2 separate regions of the Homo sapiens genome follow, and region 1 is linked to region 2. Evidence: promoter capture Hi-C in human tissues and cell types (Jung and others, 2019). All regions are on one chromosome and are shown on one strand. The core of a region is centred on a gene start or on the middle of the fragment in contact, and the rest is flanking DNA. Distances in the headings are between cores, read along the strand shown.

Evidence for each region. The method cuts DNA at HindIII sites, captures the fragments that hold promoters and counts their contacts. A contact is called where the count stands out against the background at its distance.
Region 1: a fragment that was not itself captured here is called in contact with the fragment with the promoter of TMPRSS6 in region 2 in 7 of the 25 tissues and cell types used here (H1 embryonic stem cells, IMR-90 fibroblasts, heart left ventricle and 4 more).

The regions. Positions count from the first base shown.
Region 1 is chr22:37,188,640-37,191,339 of GRCh38, reverse strand. It overlaps a transcript of C1QTNF6 not described here. Among named protein-coding and RNA genes, the nearest start is that of C1QTNF6, 1.7 kb to the right of the region's middle. RefSeq lists enhancers at 1,450-2,083, 2,084-2,700. The HindIII fragment of the contact is 4,689 bases long and covers 1-2,700 here.
Region 2 is chr22:37,108,460-37,111,159 of GRCh38, reverse strand. TMPRSS6 (transmembrane serine protease 6) reads left to right here and starts at 1,447. Exons shown (of 18, transcript NM_001374504.1): 1 at 1,447-1,657. The HindIII fragment of the contact is 35,568 bases long and covers 1-2,700 here.

The DNA.
Region 1 (2,700 bases), core at 79-2,578, 80 kb before region 2:
GGAAACTCCTATAATTCTGATATGAACATTATCAATACTAATGGACATTATCAATAATAATTATAATTGTTATGATGTTAATTTATTATATGCCACAGAGGTATCCACATTTCCTAGTCAATGATATTAATTCTTTAACCATGACTGCTCTAAGTCTTTCTGTCATCCATAGACAATTGTTGTCTTGCTTTTATTCTCTTCAAAAGGTGGTTTATAATCAGCTATAGGACTCTGATGAGTACTCTTAAATGCAGAGAAAAAGAAAACATCATCCAAGACTCTTGGAAAACTAACACATATATATCAAGCAAAACAGGAATTAATTGCATAGACTGAACTAATAAAAGACTGAAATAATCTTTTATGACTTTTTGCTTAAAATGTTGTTGATCTTTCTGTTTTGTTTTTCAGAGTCAAGAAACCCCCCCTTCTTGAGCTATTTACAGCTTTTAACAATTGAGTAAAGTACGCTCCGGTAAGGATTATAAAACAAAGTTTTGTCCAAAAACAAAATTTGGAATATGTTTTTTTCTCTTTACCTGATTTCTGCAGAATTTGGAAACTATTTGTGAGTGTTCTTAACTTACGGCAATATAGTTATTTGCATAAGTGCAGTAAGAATCTGTTTTTCCTTCTTTCTTCTTTTTTTTTTTTTGTAACAGGACACAATTGGAGAAACTGGTTATTTAACAAGGGTTTGACTCGAGTGGCATGCTTTCAAATATAAACAGACTTCTTTAAGGAATTAAAGTTGACTAATAGAGCCAATAAAAGCCTCTTGGAAAAACTGGTCTTGTACCTTGTGTATGAAGTCCCTGTATAGGGTTCCTGACCTGTGGTAAGTAAAGAATGTAACTTTCTGACAGGCCTGGGAGCCCCGAGTTATCTCGGGACCTCAAGAGGAGAGGAATTTATCTAACTCATACAGGTTCTTGCAGGCATAGGTAAATCCATGGCTGGGCTCAAAGCTTTAAAACATCTAATCTAAGATACCTTATGAAACAAAGCCAATTTTAAAAGGAGCCTGTATGGCAAATAATTATACTTGCTGCACTTTATGCAAATAATGAAGCCAAGTATAATAAGACTAAAGCTTATTTTGCAAATAAATTGGTCCTACCATGATTTGTTTTTAATAAAAAATGGGAGACTGGAGAGAGAAAAACGGTGTTTCAAAAAATATGGTACACCTGTCATAGATTCTAGTCTCATCCATTGTTTTTGAGTTTTTTGTCTGCAATTTAGACTGACCTTGCTTCTTTCTGTGAACCAAACAGTCATCTCTTGACTGCTTCTCGTCAGAAACAAGAGGGATGGATAACATAAAAATCTGGATCAGTATCTAATTCTGAGCATGTATTGGAATCGTCTAGCAACTCCGTATCAGCTCATCTAGCAATTCCTGTGACTAAGAATGCCTAACCTCCTGGGAATGCAGCCCAGTAGGTCTCAGCCTCATTTTACCCGATAAGTCACAGGCATTCTTGCCCAGTTCATGGAAAGCCTTCTTATTTGGATTACTTGGGATAATTTTACTTATTTTACTTTGCTGTTGTAGAATATATTGCTGCTATACTCTTTGTGTAAGAATGCAAGATAAGCTTACTCAGTGCTTCCTTAAATTGAACACATTAATCTTCCAGATATCACCTTTTGTTAGGACTCAGAGTTACAAATGACTCTGAACACACCAACATTTTCTTACTCAGTTCCTCTCTGCACCAAACCCAAGAGACTCTAATAGTTAGGCAGGAATATCATCGCCTCTATTCAGCCTGAAGAAGTTACAGAAGATGGATCTTCATGCCTCTACAACCCTTAAGATTAAACGTTCCCTCGTAAAAGAGAGTAGGGAAATATGTCAGAGGTGTTCAAAATAGGGCAACTCCATCTTGAATAGGGGCTGGGTAAAATGAGGCTAAGACCTGCCAGGCTGCATTCCCAGGAGGTCAGGCATTTGTAGTCACAGGAAGGGATAGGAAGTTGGCAGGACTGGTATCACAAGATACAGGTCATCAAGACCCTGCTGAGAAACAGTATGCGGTAAACAAACCAGCCAAAACCTGCCAAATCTAAGATTGCAATGAAAGTGACATCTGGTCATCCTTATTGCTCATTGTATGTTAATTAAAATGTGTTAGCTTGCTAAAACACACTTCTACCAGCACCAAGACAGCCTACAAATACCATGGCAATGTCCGGAAATTACCCTATATTGTCTAAAAGGGGGAGGAAGCCTCAGTTTCAGGAAATTCCCACCCCTTTCCTGGAAAACTCATGAATAATCCACCCCTGTTTAGCATAGGATCAAGAAATAACTATAAAAATAGCCAACTAGCAGTGCTTGGGGGTGCTCTGCCTATGGAGTAGCCATTCTTTTGTTTCTTTGCTTCTCTAATAAACTTGCTTTCACTTTGCTCTGTGGACTTACCCCAAATTCTTTCTGGTGCAAGATCCAAGAATTCTCTCTTGGGGTCTGATCAGTACCCCTCTCTGGTAACACTTGCATGATACCTGAGGAGGTCAGCCTGGTCATTCACCCAACAAACATGGGTTAAGCCCTCCCATGTGCCTGGCACAAAGGGGGCTGAGGACTGCAGTTCTGGAACACCTAGGCTCTGAGAGGCGACGCGACTGTGGTAGCAGGGCCAGGATTCTAGCCTGTGCCTGGAGGGCCAACACCTGCACCTTCTCTGCTAC
Region 2 (2,700 bases), core at 198-2,697:
CACACACACACACACGCACATTCTACACATACATAATCTACACACACAAATTCCAGACTGTCTCTCTTACACACACACTCTGGGACCCATATGCCCACAGCACACAGCATCTCAGGCGTGCACCCCGCATTCTGGCCTCAGGATGTAGACTCGCTGAAAGTCAGCCTTGTCTGAGACAGACGCCCGCTGCCCTGCACGCACCCTAGAAAGCCCTGGCTCCCATCCGGCACTTCGGCACGCATATGGCTCAAACCCATCTCCACAGCAACGCTGTTCCATAGAACAACAACGCAGGTCACACTTGTGACTTAACCTGTCTAATATCCACATGCAACAAGGGGTGTGGTGGCCCGCGCCTGTAATCCCAGCTACTTGGGAGGCTGAAGCAGGAGGATCATGTGGGCCCAGGAGCTCCAGACCAGCCTGGCAACCTAATGAGACCCTGTCTCTGAAAAAAAAAAAAACAAGAGAGCCAGAAGAAAATTGCTTTTAATAATACATTTTATTTATCCCATGATCACCAGTGTTATTTCAACATAAAATCAATATAAAAATTGTTATCGCGTTGGTTGACATCCTGTTTGCACTTGGCCTTGGAAACCTGGTGTGCGTCTCCCCCGTGCAGCTTTTCTCAGTTCAGACTGACTCAAGAGCCACGGGTGACCAGCGGCTACCGTCATGGACAGCACAGCGCTACGGAACCAGGTAGGAATTCATGCTGCGTGCGGTCGCTCATGCCTGTAATCCTAGCGTTTTGGGAGGTCGAGGTGGGTGGAATCACTTGAGGTCAGGAGTTCGAGACCAGCCTGGCTAACATGGTGAAACCCCATCTCTTCTAAAATTATGAAAATTAGCCGGGCATGGTGGTGGGCGCTGTAATCCCAGCTACCTGGGAGGCTGAGGCAGGAGAATTGCTTGAACCCGGGAGGCGGAGGTTGCAGTGAGCCGAAATCACACCACTGCACTCTAGCCTGGGTGACGGAGTGAGACTCCATCTTAAAAAAAAAAAAAAAAAAAAAAAAGAACGAGGTAGGAATTCAAATAATTCCCAGCTAAACAGAAAATAGCATCAAACCCCACCCCTGCCTCCCCTTTCTCCTCTCCAGTCCCCAGAGTATATGGGCCCAGCCTCCTTTTCTCTCTCTCAGGCCAGCAGCTCCTTTAGTCTCGCCTGTCCAGGTAAGCACCTGGACTCACCCTTGTGAGCCCCTGCACTCACCTGCACCGGCCTCTGCACAGTCCCCAGTCCTTGGCTGTCCCTACCTCATGCTCTCGGGGACCAGGGGCTGTAACCAGGCAGGCATGTCACCAGGCAACGGGCCTCGGGGGAGAGCTCAGATCTCCCGCACCTGCCTGCCAGCCTCTGGGGTGCCCATGCGGGGGTGGGGGAAGATGGGGCGGGGCAGGCACTGCCTTCTCCTACCTCCTGCCTGTTTACCTGTACTTAGTCACAGTGCTGTCCAGGACCCAGCAGGAGGAGTTCCATGGAGCCTGAGGCCACAGGCCACAGGGGACAAGGGCCAGACACCCTGGTCATGGCTCTAGGCCATTGATCCAGCCTGGGCTGGCTGGGTGGGGGTGGGGAGGCCTTGGCCTGGACAAACAGAGGCTCCTGAGGCCTGTGTGCAGGCCCGGCACCTATCTGCCGCTCCCAAAGGTAAGCGGGGGCCTCCAGGACAGGGGACCGGGATCTATAAATGACCTAGTGACAGTGTCCACCCTAAGAGCTGGGCCTGGCTCCCTGCAGCCTGAGCCACCTACCCTGCTCCGAGGCCAGGCCTGCAGGGCCTCATCGGCCAGAGGGTGATCAGTGAGCAGAAGGTGAGGGGCCCACAGAGCTGGGGAGGGGAGGGACCACGCAGGGTGACACCAGGTGTGTGGACAGGCACAGCATCAGTGCTGGGTGGTTGGTGGCCTGGGATTCAGGTGGCAGGGACAGGAGGAAGGGAGAGGCCACCCTACCCCTGCCTCGCAGGACTGGACATGCTGCCCCCTCCACACCCGGTACCCCACCTGGGCCTTCTGGTGTAGGAGACAGGCCCGGAGCCCCACATTGCACCTATGTACTGACTTAAGCCCAGGACCCTGGGCTCACAGGCTCAGAGTTGGCATGTATGTGTATGTGTGTTCGTGTGTGTGTCTGTGTAGGAAGGGCGTGCATCTATGAATTTTTGTGTCATGAATAGATGTGCGTATATCCCTCCGCGTGTCTCCATCTGTGTACATCTGTGGGTCTGTGAGTGTGTTTATATGTGTGGAAGGGACCCCCACCCAGTCCCCCACACTCTCAGGACTCTAGGGCCTAATGGTTTCACTGAAAGATGCCCCTATGGCCCTAGCCCAGAGTCCCTGCTCTGCTCTGCTCTGCCCTGGCTGAGGGACCTCGGGTAAGTCATGTTACCTCTCTCTACCTCAGTTTCCCCAGCCATTAAATAGAGTCAGCAAAGTAGGCACCCCAGGCTGTTGGAGGCTGCAGTGGAGTTTGCAGCACTGCCCAGCACAGGGCTGGCACATGGTAGGAGTTCATACGCAGTGGTTGAATCCGGATCTGCATTGCTGGGGGAGTCGCGGCCCCGCCCCAAGGAGCTCAGCCTCCAGCAGGCAGACCCGAGACCCTCCAATGGCCAGAAGGGCAGGAGGGAGTGAGGAGCAGGTGCCAGGGTGGGGTCCATGGTGCTCAGAGCTGGGGGACTGCTTCAG